2 separate regions of the Homo sapiens genome follow, and region 1 is linked to region 2. Evidence: promoter capture Hi-C in 16 types of primary human blood cells and fetal thymus (Javierre and others, 2016). All regions are on one chromosome and are shown on one strand. Each heading gives the region's core, a stretch centred on a gene start or on the middle of the fragment in contact. The rest is flanking DNA. Distances are from core to core; before and after follow the strand shown.

What was found. Contacts are between HindIII fragments. The CHiCAGO score rates a contact against its expected background, and 5 or more counts as called.
Region 1: a fragment that was not itself captured here is called in contact with the fragment with the promoter of ACTR6 in region 2 in 1 of 17 cell types (non-activated CD4 T cells); the score reaches 5.3 in non-activated CD4 T cells.

The regions. Positions count from the first base shown.
Region 1 is chr12:79,933,932-79,940,706 of GRCh38, forward strand. PPP1R12A-AS1 (PPP1R12A antisense RNA 1) reads left to right here and starts at 1,350. Exons shown (of 2, transcript NR_146535.1): 1 at 1,350-1,623; 2 at 6,431-6,775. It overlaps PPP1R12A (protein phosphatase 1 regulatory subunit 12A), which reads right to left and starts at 1,166. Exons shown (of 25, transcript NM_002480.3): 1 at 764-1,166. The coding sequence starts at 1,000. RefSeq lists enhancers at 1-551, 352-411, 552-1,115, 752-1,051, 1,098-1,392 and 1 more and a silencer at 582-671. The HindIII fragment of the contact is 904 bases long and covers 5,024-5,927 here.
Region 2 is chr12:100,195,791-100,202,899 of GRCh38, forward strand. ACTR6 (actin related protein 6) reads left to right here and starts at 5,025. Exons shown (of 11, transcript NM_022496.5): 1 at 5,025-5,129. The coding sequence starts at 5,062. RefSeq lists a silencer at 3,969-4,328 and enhancers at 4,821-5,115, 5,089-5,288, 6,133-6,820, 6,821-7,109. The HindIII fragment of the contact is 11,223 bases long and covers 1-6,606 here.

The DNA.
Region 1 (6,775 bases), core at 4,226-6,725, about 20 Mb before region 2:
AGTGCACACCCGAGGACCTGGGGCTCAAGGATCTCTGACACTGCGGCAAACTTCGAGTATCAGACTCAACACGTTCCGGTCCGGAGGTGGGCAAGCCCTTTAGAGGGCTTCCTTACTCTACCCACTTCCATCCCCTTCCTTTCAGCCGGTGCAGATCAGCTAATTACACCCTGTTTTCCCCTCCCCAGTGACCAAGAGTAATAAATGAGAAAACAGGAAATCGTTCGTTCAGGGCACTCGGCTTAGGGCTCTAGATTACTATTATTATCATCATTTGTAATCAAGTCCTAAAAAGTGCAACAAATCCAATGCCCACCTACAAGTCAAAGATGTTCATCTGCCTAACCGTCCGTAATGCCCCTTGTTAGTTTTCTTCCTTCAGCATCCACCCCTCCGAATATACCACTGACACCGGGGCCCAGGCACAACCCCACTACACCCCTCCTTGTCTCGACCCCAAATCCCAGACTTATCCACGAATGGCCCTGGGGCCCCAAACGACCACAGTTCCTTTTCCCCTATGCCCCGGAAATCACCCGGTTCCCAACTCCACCAGCAACTGTTCTGAAGGGGGGCCTCAAGCCCAGCGCCCTCCCTTCCACCAGCTCTCCCTCCCGCCCTCTGGGGAAACCGCCCCCTCACCCCGCAGCAGGGAGTCTCCCGCCGCCCCCAGCCTCAAGAGGTGGAGAACTGAGGGCAGGCCCGAGCAGGAGGCCGACGAGAACCCTCACGGTCAGGAGAGCCGGCGGCGGGGCGCACAGACCTGGTGCAGGGCAGTGAGTCCGTCCACATTGGCGTAATTGATGTCGGCGCCGCGGTGCAGCAGCTTGAGGACCTCGTCCGTGTCGCCGCTGGAGCAAGCAGCCAGGAAGACGGCGCCATCGTCGAACTTCACCTTGGTCTTCTGGCGCTTCACCACCGGAGGCTCGAGGTCCGTCTCGGAGCCGATCCAGCGTTTCAGCTGCTCGTTCCGCTTCTGCTTCGCGTCCGCCATCTTCATCCCCTCTCCTGCCGCCGGGTCTTCTTATCGCGAGGGGGGGAAGGGGGAGGCGGAGAGGGAAGAGAGGGGAGGCAGGGGGTGTGTGAATGTTTCTATGAGTGCGGGCCAGAGGAGGGCTGGGAACCCGGAGCCGACGCTCGAGACTTCCAGTATCCCACAGAGCACTGGGGCGGCGCACCCGGCCGAGCGGACCTCCCTTCCTACCACAGAAGCCCTCCCGCCCCCAGCACGGCCACCCGTCACCGGCGGCCAATCTAACGTAACTTCGCGAGATCCGGACTGGGAGGCGCCCTTCGACCAGTGCGCATGCGCCCTGGGCCTGTGCCCGCCCCAGGAAGAGCGCTCCCGCGAACTGCGGCGGTGGTGGCTGGGCCACCAGAGGGAAGCGGGTGTGGCCCAGGCAGCGGGGGCTGGGACAGACCTGGAAAGGAGGAAGCGGGGAAGGAAGGTTGTCCTGTCGGGCTGGGGGCTCCCGGGAATCCGGAGGCCAGCAGTGGAACCGCAAGGCTCTACAGGGCAGATCTGCCTCCCGTGCTGTCTCAGCTACGCCGAGTCGTTGGCTCAGGGCGGAGGATTTTCCTATTGGCCGCGTTATTTGAATGGAATGGAGGATAGGTCGTGAAGTAGGTGCTGCTGGTTGATCTTTCTAAGGAACTCAGATGAACTTGGGCATGTCAGAATTAATAACCTTTTAAAAGTGGGGTCTGTGTGGCCGAGGGTTTTAATGGTAAGTTCTTGAGGTGACCACCTATTGACAAGGGTTGACCTGCTGTAATTGCTGTGGCTTCCTGCCAACCCCCACTTTAGAAATGTTTTTCTTCCTCTCTTTACTTGTTTTGTTTTGCTTTCTCTCACGCTTGGGTTCTCTTCTTTCTTCCTTCAGTGCTTTAAGCCTGTCTCGTACTACCCATGAGCTTAGCTCAGCCTGATTACTGGTCCTTACCTTTTAAGGGATTTCTGGTTACAGCTCCATCTCTTTCTAAGGAGGGGTAAAGACCTAGCTGCGTCTAGCATTTAAACGGAACGTTAAGGAAGGCAATTAATTCAACCACTATTTATTGAATACCTACTATGAGCCAGTAACTGTACTAGGCACTGAAGATACAATGAAAAATATGACATTTATTTGAACCACCTCTTGAGTTCAGTCGCCCAAACAAGACTAATTTATCATCGTCATAAAAAAAAGACTTTAACTTTGCCTTGTATGACCACACGCGCACACACATAGGATTTGTAATACTGATGTCTTATGAGCCATCTATCTACAATCTCCACCAATTGATTTTACTGAACACTGCATTGTTACCATCCACTACTATTTTTAGAGCATTTAGAAAAGCCAAGATAAAAACCACAAAACCTTACCATGGAAGTTTAGGGGTCATCTAGACAGAGTCCCTCAAGAACTAATTAATTTACTTAATTTTACCCAGAAGTAGGATTAGAATTCACTCAGCAAATACTATGCACCTGTTCTGGGTCAGGCATTGTTCTAGGTGCTGGAGATAGAGCAGTGAACAAATAAGCTTTTCTTACTCTCAGCATGATGCCTTTTCCAGTGGACTACTTCACAGCCTATCATATTGAGAAATAAAATAATTGAGTAAAACGTGATTAGGAAACTGTCTGCCTGTGAGACAATTTTCTGAACCACAGTTATTAGGATAGCGATAGAATCCAGGTCAGGGTAAAAATATTTCCTCTGAAAACGTTGTAGGAATAGAAAATGAATGTAATATTCATAAGATATACCATTGTATGTTCATTACATACATTAAAGATAACATCAGACCTTTGAATACTCATGGTGTTAGGTACTGAAAAACATTGTTAGCACTAAAATACAAAATCCCTATCCACAGAATACAGCTCTCAGAATAAAAGAAAGGAACTTGAGGATTGCCTTGTCAGCTCCTGTCTCTACCTAGGCAACTGACAGCATATCCTGTTTTCCAAGAACGTTATGGCCTATGTGGTAGCTCTTAAAGTGCCCTTGCAGTATAGATGGGAATCTGAAGATTTCATTCAGGCAAAAGGAATTTAGTGGGAAGTATGCTATTCCTGATTCAAGCACTTATTTCAGGATGCAAAATTAATAATAGTTTATTAATAAAACATAATTAAGTTCATTCAGTTCCCAGAAGCTGTCAGGGAAAAAACAACCAAGGAGGGCTGCTATCATGTGCAAATTTCACTGAATTTAGTTTTTCTTCTTTCGTGGCTCTAAGGGTCAAGATGCTCTATGTTAATATTGAAAGTACTCTGAAACTGCCACCTACTTTGTCTTTAGGGAGGATTTTTTTTAAATTGTTGTTAGTGAATTAATGGTACTGAAGACCTTGGGTTAATTCTAGAACAAGCAAAATTTTTTATTGACACACACAGTCCCAGCACAGTGGCTCACACCTGTAATCCTATCACTTTGAGAGGCTGAGGCGAACTCTGCCCAGGAGTTCGAGGCTGCAGTGAGCTCTCTGCACTACAACCTGAGCGACAGAGCTAGACCCTATCTTTACCAAAAAAAAAAAAAAAAGACACACACACACACACACATGCTTTTATTACATATTTGTCTAAGCAGAACAAATGGAAAAAATGCAAATATTTTCACTTCCTAATGGCTTCTAAACAGATTGGGATGTGAGGATACATTTTAGCTCCTTTAAAGCAAATTAAGCCTTAAAATAGAAGTACAAATAAAACTATACTTACTAATTTGCATATATGTATATATAAAAATATATTTTTGGCTGCACCAAATCAATCATATTGGAGGTTTTTGTTTCTGAGACAGGGTCTCACTCTATCGCTCAGGCTGCAGTGCAGAGGCATGATCTCAGCCTCCCAAGTAGCTGAGACTACAGGCGCGTGCACCACCAGGCTTAGCTAATTTATTTTTTAAGTTTTGTAAAGATGGGGTCTACCTATGTTGTCCAGGCTGGTCTCAAACTCCTGGGCTCAAGTGATCCTCTGCCTTGGCTTCTTAAAGTGTTGGGATTACAGGCTTGAGCCACTGTACCTGGCTGGGGGTTTTATTTATTACATGCACAAGATTGTCAGAATGAGATCTGTGTATATCTTTTTCAAAGTTTAATCACACTACTGACATTCCTTACCATTAATTTGCTTGCTAATTATGATCAACTTAATTTAAATTATAAACATATTTGAAATGCTGACATGCACAGCTTAGATTTGTTTCTGCTATTATAATCTCTTTGTTAAAAATGTACATAAGATATTAATAAATACTTTGATATATCTATGTTCTCTTTATCCCTAATTTAAACCTGAGATACTAATTTACATTTATACACTTGAGAATAGAACAGTCAACAAGGACCTTGTTTCTGTCTCCTGTATTCTACACCTGGGCCAAACTCTCTTCCATTGCATAATAATTTCTTTCCAATGTTTTATTTAAGAACCTGAAGAAAAGGCTGGGCACGGTGGCTCATGCCTGTAATCCCAGGGCTTTGGGAGGCCCACGTGGGCAGATCACCTGAGGTTAGTAGTTCGAGACCAGCCTGGCCAACATGGCAAAACCCCCGTCTCTACTAAAAATACAAAAATTAGCTGGGCGTGGTGGCACGTGCCTGTAATCTCAGCTACTCGGGAGGCTGAACCCGAGAATACATGAGAATTACTTGAACCAGAAGGCGGAGGTTGCAGTGAGCCAAGATTGTGCCACTGCATTCCAGCCTGGGTGACAGAGCAAGACTCTGTCTCAAAAAGAAAAAAAAAAAGAACTTGAAGAAAAGTTTACAATCCATTCACATCATAATTTATTTAGTCCTACCCAGGGAGTTGACCAGAACCAACATGGAACCACCCTAACTTGCTTCAGACTCCATTGCTAGATCAATCCTGATTTCTAGATCATAGCATCTAATCTTTGCCTTGCCTCTGGATTACAAGGTGAGTTTCTAATTTACTTTAGGGTAAATTTTCTGCCACATCTGACTCCATTTCAAGAAACTAACCCTATCACAGTACAAGTACTGGCTAATATGCTCATAAAGCTTCTTTTGTTCCCCAAAACTAGGACTCAGATGAGTGTCTGGCAACAATCCAAAGTGCAGTTATACTGCTAAAGAGATAACTCACCTCCATTGCACATGACTCCCAACCTGTATCATGTGACAGAACATCACATGCCCCTTTCATATGAATTAATGTTTCCCAAACTTTATCAGTTTTATTGCCAAATTCAAGAACCGCAAATACTAGTATTTGCTTAATGTTTTCTTTAACCTTTTTAAGACAAATTTATTTTAAAGCAACATTATGTTGCTTTGGTAAGTGAAAAACGTTTCCACTTGACATAAAGAAGACTGTTAAAGCAAATACAATGAAAACAAAACATTAGTTAGGTTGTCTGTCAAGGGTCTGAGCCCAAGCTGTGCTCTCAATTTGTTAAAAAAGGGATATTGGTAAGGGTTGGACATGTGAGCATCAACCTAAGATTTTTCAGTTTAGCATAATCGGAAAGATTAAAAGGTAGTGAAAAAAGAATATTGTGCTAAGTGCTTCACTGTTGTTTTAATGTTACATCTACCTTATAACATTACCTCATGTACCACCAGTCTACATGTCCTACACTTTAGGAAACTGACTGACTTTAATTAGTATGTGTAATAATAATTACGATTAATTAAGTGAAGGTTATAGGATAGGCCTTAGTGGCACCCCCAACTCAAGGTGTCAAGGCAAGGCATTGGCAGGAAGGCCAATTTGTATGAAAATATCTGTGTGCTGAAGGAATTTCAGAAATAAGAGTCATTCTCCATGGCACTGAAATTAGAAGAATAAATTACAAGATCAATATCTGGAAGGCAAGTTTAGGTGCATGAGTTCTATCTTGGATCACTAATATTTAGTTGAGGGATCCATTCAATTGTCCTTCAAATCAAATCCTAGGAAAAGCTTTAAAATTCCTTCACAGACCAGAGTGCAAAAACAAGGTATTCATGAGAACCAAAACATGCTGACCGTGCTCAATTTTGACAGGTGGGAATATCAACTTCATGTGGTTGTCTTAAAGATTAAATGAATAATGTATGTGAGAGAGAAAAAAATTTGAGATTTTATTTGTGTTCTTGTATTTGCCTTTTCCTTCCCTTATTTAAGCTGATAGCAACTCTGCTTCCTTGCCTCAGGACAGGTTTGTGGCAAGGAAGAAAGCAGAAGTTGCTTTCAAAACATTTTCCCTCCTACTTGAAATGTCCACCCACCAATTTCTATTTAATAAGAATTTAGGGCTAGTGATCTGATTGGAATTAGTATATGAGGTTGCTAGAAACTTATTTAAGTTCTATTTGCATAGCATTATAAATCAATAAAAATAGCACTGTTTTCTAAATTTGCCTTTATTTTCACTTTACAAAAATTTTCACCATAACTCCATGGAATGTTATTTTTACTTAGGGTGGAACCAAGCAGAGGGGTTCACCCAAGCCATCTTTGGGTGCTTCCATGGGAAAGAAGGATTTCACTGAGAATAATAAGTGACACCAAGGCTCAAAAGAATGAGAGAGAAGTCTGTTGGTCTCTTGAACAGCAGGGATTTGCTCACAGATCTCTGGAAGTAGCCAGAATGTGACAGGATCTCAAAATGAATGGCTGCTTCATGGAGGCTGGAACATAAGCCTGGGACTCCCAGTAGCCAAACATAGCTGTGCCACAAACATGGCTGAAATGTAGCAGTTTGGTGGATCCGAGGTCAGTCATTGAAAATGTATTGATTGGCACCTATTCTTTGTGAATCATTAT
Region 2 (7,109 bases), core at 3,775-6,274:
ACCACAGCTTCTCCAGAGAAGGCTCAAAGATGCTTTAAAATAAGAAAAATATATAATACTATAATAAGAACATTGCTGATTTTTCTTTACTTTTTAACCCTCTGTGAAAAGAAATGGTATTTGTAAAATTATACACAACTAGCTGAAGTCTGAGCAGGGCTAAAACCTAACTTAAAAATCCTTAGAAATCAGGGTCTCCTCTATGGCTGGACAGCCCTGAAGTGAAACATTAAGGCTTATGGGAATCAGTTCTTGGATCTGAAAGATGAAAAGGAAGATAAATCGGTAATTTCCTTATTTACCACCATAAAGTTTTTACTTCTAGAGCTCAAAAGAAATAATGGTACAATGAAATTTATCTTTCTTAAAACACACCCCTGGCTGGGCACAGTGGCTCACGCCTGTAATCTCAGCACTTTGGGAGGCCAAGACAGGTGGATCACCTGAGGTTGGGAGTTCGAGACCAGCCTGACCAACATGGAGAAACCCCGTCTCTACTAAAAATACAAAAATTAACTGGGCGTGGTGGCGTACACCTGTAATCCCAGCTACTCGGGAGGCTGAGGCAACAGAATTGCTTGAACCTGGGAGGCGGAGGTTGTGGTGAGCTGAGATCACACCATTGCACTCCAGCCTGGGCAACAAGAGTGAAACAATGTCTCAAAACAAACAAATAAACAAAAAACACCCCTACTCTAAAACCCTGATCCCTTCTTTTGGAAAGCCTTGCCTGTTTCCATTTCCATTGTTGTAAATAGCCAACACTCGAGGCCTCAGGTATTATCTTACTCTGTGACCAATTTAATTTTACATGTCAAAATATTCCTCCATTGTCAGTAACCCAAAGGAAAATATTTCCTTTTCTTAAAAAAAAAAGAAATACTCTGAACCTACAACAAGATGGATAGCGGCCAGGCACAGTGGCTCGTGCCTGTAATCTGAGCACTTTGGGAGGCCGAGGCGGGTGGATCACCAGAGGTCAGGAGTTTGAGACCAGCCTGATCACCATGGTGAAACCCCGTGTCTACTAAAGATACAACATTAGCCAGGCGTGATGGCGCATGCCTGTAATCCCACTTACTTGGGAGGTTGAGGCAGGAGAATCACTTGAACCCAGGAGGCGGAGGTTGCAGTGAGCTGATAGCGCGCCATTGCGCTCCAGTCTAGGCAACAGGAGCAAAACTCTTGTCTCAAAAAAAAAAAAAAAAAAAAAGATGGATGGCATAACACAACAAACACTGATGCACCCACCACCCAGTCCAAGAAATAAAACACTGCAAAACAACAGTGGAAGCCACAAGGCACCAGCCCCAAGGCAGCCATTCCCAATCACATCCCCCCTCTTCCCATCAGAGGCAACCACCACCTAGAAACCAGAGCTCATCACCCCCTTGCATCTCTTCCCCTCCTGACACAGTATATATCCTTGTGATCTGTAGCACTATTTTACATGATCTTCTTAACCTTTCTATAAATGGTATCATTCTGAACAGAATCAGTCTGTAACTTATTTCTTGCTCAATTTTATGTTTGTGAGAGTAATCCACATTGACACTTATAGCTCTAGTTCCTTTGTTTACTACCACATAATATGCCATTATATGAATATACTACATAGTTGGCCAAAAACACTGCTTGATGTTTCATATGCCATGTAGTGCCTACTACTTTCCGTACCACTATGGAAAATGTGCCAGCCATTTCCATAACATTCTCCAGAATCCTCACAGCCACTAATGAGGAAGGTAAGATTCCCATTGAAGATGAGGAATGAGAAGACCAAAGAGGAACTGGGACGTGGTATAACTTGTCCAGTACATGTGAGCAGCAGGATCCTGCTTCAAGTTCAAGCCCATCCAAGTCTAAAGCCATGCTCCTGACAATATGCCCTGTAACCCATATAGGGCTTTACAGTCATCTGAGAAAAATCTGAAACATGACGCTCTATTTTCTTTGTTAACAAATATCCTACAGGAAATTCACCTGACATGGGGACAGTCCATGTATACACTGAGGAAGAGCCTCTACCTTTGGCAAAGGTCTTCCACCGGGGTCATTCCCATGTTTATACAGGCGCAAAGTAAGCCTGAGTAGGACTGCAACCCTGGCTGGCTTCCTTCGGGGAAACAGGCTGTCTGCACCCACTTACAGACAGGACAGAGGAGCCCGAGAGAACATGGGAATCAGATCCTGCTTGAATTGGCAAAAGCTGAGTCGACAAAGCTCTGAGAACATCTCCGGGGGCAGCTGCAGCTGTTAGCAGCTCTGGGGGTCTGAGGAACAGTCCTGTGCTCATAAGGCCAAGAGCCTGCCTACTCTGCTCTCCGCGTGGCCAGCTTTGAGAGTGCTTTCATACATCCCAGCCCAACCCTGCTGCCCTGGAGAAAGCCGAGCCTGCAGCGCGGAAGAGGAATGAGAGAGAAGGTGGAGGTTCACAGGAGCCAGGCAGGGAGCACAGCCTGGAGAAAGGATACTGGGCTCCAGGCCTGGGCCCAGATCCCTCTATGTGCTCGAAGCAGGTGGACCCCTCGGAGGTGACAGAGTCTAGCCCGCTAAGGACTCCCAAGGAAAGGGGAGGCCTCTCAGCACCAGGACTCCTCACTCTACTCTCCTGCTTCTGCATTATTTTTCCCATTATGTCTCTTCGCTGGAGGATTAAAAGAGCCTCAAAGAGCAAGGCCTAACTGGCTGAAGTGACCCCCTCCCACCTCTCCTGGACAAAACAAGGAGCAAGAAAAGAGGGTCTGCCACTTACTGGCTGTGTGACCTTAGCTGGAGCATCCCTGCCCACTCTCGGAGGAAATGTAGTGGAATATCTCTAAGGGCCCTGCCATTTCTGACTCTTTTTGTCTATAGTGCTAAATGCACTGTGGCTCACGTCTGGAATCCCAGGAAGATGGGTGGGGAGGATGGTTTGAGCCCAGGAGTTCGAGACTAGCCTGAGCAACATAGCGAGACCCCCATCTACACACACACACACACACACACACACACACACACACACACACACACACAAAAACCATTTTTTAAATTAGCCAGGCGTGGGCCTGCACCTGTGGTCCCGGATACTTGGGAGGCTCAGGTGGGAGGCTCAGGTGGGAGGATCACTTGAGCCCAGGCATGAGGCTGCAGTTAGCTGAAATCACACCACTGCACTTCAGTCTGCACAACAGAGCGAGATCCTATGGCAAAAAGAACAAATAAATAAAAATAAAATAAATGTACTAACATTTACTGAGCAGTTTAGAGTATAATTAGTTTAATCTCAACACCCCATGATATAGATACTACTGCTATCTCATTTTAGAGGACGCTGAAGGGCAGAGCGGTTAACTGATGTACCAAGGTCCTAGCAGAGTTCTAAAGGAGGCCCCTGGGGCAGAAGCCTACGGTTATGAATGCTTGGGAGGGCTGCACCGGACATCCACGGGATGCTGGGGGTGAGAAGACACTAGAGAGGGGTCAGAGGGAAGGAGCAGAGGGAGATAATGGGTCAAAGTGTCTGAGGAAGGAGACTGGGCTGGGTAGCCCCAGCCACCCGGGCCTAAGCCCAGGTGGAGGGGAGGAGATAGGAACGAGGACGGGATGTGGAGAAGTGGGGAAAGGCAGGCCGACGTTGGCAGGGTGCGAGGAGGCCTTGGAGAAAGGAGGGTGGATGGGGCAGGCCCCCAGGGGAGGCAAGGAGCGCCGACAGAAGGGCCCAGGCGCTTGCAGGGCGCGAGTTCCCACCTCAAGCACCGTGGCGGCTCCCGCGCTGCGCACCTGGAAGTGCGCAGGCTGCTCCGCCGCCTCGTCGGCGCGCTGGTAGCTGAAGCAGGCTTCTGCTATGTCCAGGTGGCCGAGGGGCAGCGGGTCGTGGGGGTTCTTGAAGTAGCAGAGGCAGCAGCGGCGCCCGTCCAACACGAACCGACGGCTGCGGTAGCCACGCAGTCGCGCTGGTTCCCGCGCGGTACCCGCCCCGGGCTCTGCAGCCTCCCCATCGCCGTCGCTGCCCTCCTCTGCCCGGGTTCCGGCCCCGGTATGGCTGCCTGCGCGCCAACCGTTTGTTCCCCGGCCCCCGCGCCTTCGCGCTGCGGCTGCTGCGCTCCCTGCCCCCGCGGTGCCCCCTTCCCGCCGCCCCGCTCCTCTCTCAGGCGCTCAAAGTGGCCTGGAATTTGTAGAACGCCCCCCTCCAAGCCCGTTGGCAGTTGTCCTAGCCCGCTGGCCCTTGCCCCCGCCCGCTGGCCGTTGCCCCCGCGACGCCCCGGAAGCCAGGTCCTGCCTCCCGCACCTGCCAAGTCCCCGCCCTGCCGGAGTCTCGCTCTGTCGCCCAGGCTGGAGTGTAGTGGAGCCATCTCGGCTCACTGCAACCTCCGCCTCCCCGGTTCAAGCAATTCTCCCGCCTCAGCCTCCCGAGTACTTGGGATTACAGGCGCCCGCCACCTCGCCCGGCTACTTTTTGTATTTTTAATAGAGACGGGGTTTCGCCGTGTTGGTCAGGCTGGTCTCAAGCTCCTGACCTCAAGTGATCTGCTTGCCTTGGTCTCCTAAAGTGCTGGGATTACAGGCGTGAGCCACCGCGTCCGGCCCAAAAGCCTTTTTTGGATGAGAAAGACTCACTCAGCTTCGTCCTGAAGAGCAAGTGGGCTGGGGAAGAGGAGAGTATGAATGTGAGTCCAAGAGCAAGTTTTGCACTTTTTTCTTCAAAGAATGTCACCGTCTGAAGAATGCGATTGGAAGACACACACACACACACACACACACACACACACGCAGCCGGTTCTCTACAGGATTAGAAAAAACTTGCGCGAATTAATCTGCGTAGTTAAAAACAAATACGAAATGAGCGAGAAAGCACATAGTAGTCAAATCTCGCCACCACATAAACAGGTTAAGTTTGGAAGCACAGCCCCTAACATTCGGTGCTGCTTAGCATCTCCGACTTCCGGCGTCCTCCGTTGCTAAGGTGACCAGAGGCGCGTCCTAACGCTCCGCCCAACAAACCATAGAGTACCGGAAAAAGCTCGAGCAGAGGGGTCGGAAAGGGAAAACAACTACGGCTGCGGTGTGGTTGGTGGTGAGATGACGACCTTAGTGCTGGATAATGGAGCTTACAACGCCAAAATCGGTTACAGCCATGAAAATGTGTCGTAAGTACTTTCTTTCTCCGAGGGACAAGATATATACGCCTAGTGGTTTCATGTGCTACGTTTCATCTCCGGACATCAATGAACTGCAGACACCCCCGCGCGGCCCTGACTTAGCCAGAGGGATTCCCTGGTTGGAGCTGGGTGGGTGATTGTGATGCTTTGAATTGAAATTGATTTTGGTTTTAGTTTTGGGCTGCGAGGCCCCGGAAGTGGGATATATGTTTTATTTCGTAACAGGAAATAGCCAAAGAAAATAGGCTTATAGAGATGCGTTCCTGACAGAAGGGTCCGTAAAGTTCATCAGCCTTTGGAAACTATGGGCACGGTGTTTGGGTGTATGCGGATTTTCCTGGGTACAAGATTATAGGTTTCATTAGATTCTCAAAGGGTTCTATGACCCTCCAAAAGTCTAAAAATCACGGTCTTAGGATCTAGAGGCTTTGAAGACTTTGGCCTACTGGCCGACCTAGTTGGTAAGGTCAATTAAACAGAAGTACTGTTAATACAATGGCATTCATAACATGTATAGTCATAAAATATATGTTTGAATAAATAAGCAAACCTAAAGACACGCCTTTCCTTTATCAAATTAACAGAGCATTAAAAAAAATTCTTTCCTTCCTCCCTCCTTTCCTTCTTTTTCATTTCTTTTGAAACAGAAATGAAAGAGGGAAATCAAACTGAGTAGGAATGTAAATTGTTACAATCTTTCTGGAAAACGTTTTGGCAATGTGTATCATTATCATTGTCACCGAGGCTGGAGTGCCGTGGTGCGATCTCAGCTCACTGCAGCCTGAATTCAAGTGATTCTCCCGCCTCAGCCTCCAGAGTAGCTGGGATTATAGGCGTGCACCACCACTCCCAGCGAATTTTTTGTATTTTTGTTAGAGACGGGGTTTCATCATGTTGGCCAGGCCGGTCTCGAGCCCCTGGCCTCAAGCAGTCTACCCGCGTTGGCCTCCCAAAGTGCTGGTATTAGGGGCGTGAGCCCTACACCCAGCTGACAAAGCAATTTTTTTTTTTTTTTTTGGAGAGGGAGTCTGGCTCTCTTGTCCAGGCTGGAGTGCAGTGGCACGATCTCGGCTCGCTGCAACCTCTGCCTCCCGGGTTCAAGCCATTCTCATGCCTCAGCCTCCCAAGTAGCTGGGACTACAGTTGCGCACCACCACGCCTGGCTAAGTTTTGTATTTTTAGTAGAGACGGGGGTTTCACCATTTTGGCCATGCTGGTCTGGAATTCCTGACCTCGTGATCTGCCTGCTTCAGCCTCCTAAAGTGCTGGGATTACAGGTGTGAGCCACCGCACCGGGCCATGACACAGCAATTCTGTTATTACCTAGAGAATTAATTAGAAGTGCTTTGTATTATTCATAGTCATCGTATACAGGCAGCCAAAAAATGGGAAGGAAGCTAAATAATCAGGAATAGCATATTGGCTAAATACACCAAAATACAACCTGAGACTGATAACAAATTCAAGCTTCTTAAAATTATGTCTTCAAAGAACATTTAAACATGTAGAGAAAATGCTGACAGTATTATAAGTGAAATAAGCAGGTGTAAAACATTTTTTTACAGTATTATCCCAGTGTCATCTCGTATACACATACAGACACATTTGTATGCATACATGTGTGTATAATTAATAATGGCTCTAGTTTGTCTTCCAAACCAGATTGTAAGCTCATGGCAAGCAGCAAGAGGCCCAGGTGGGTGGATCACGAGGTTAGGAGATCCAGAGCATCATGGCTAACACGGCGAAACCCTGTCTCTACTAAAAATACAAAAATTAGCCGGGCGTAGTGGCAGGCGCCTGTAGTCCCAGCTACCTGGGAGGCTGAGGCGGGAGAATGGCGTGGGCCTGGGAGGCGGAGCTTGCAGTGAGCCGAGATCACGCCACTGCACTCCAGCCTGGGGCGACAAAGCGAGACTCGGTCTCAAAAAAAAAAAAAAAAAGTTGCTACTTCTGTACCCTGTAGCA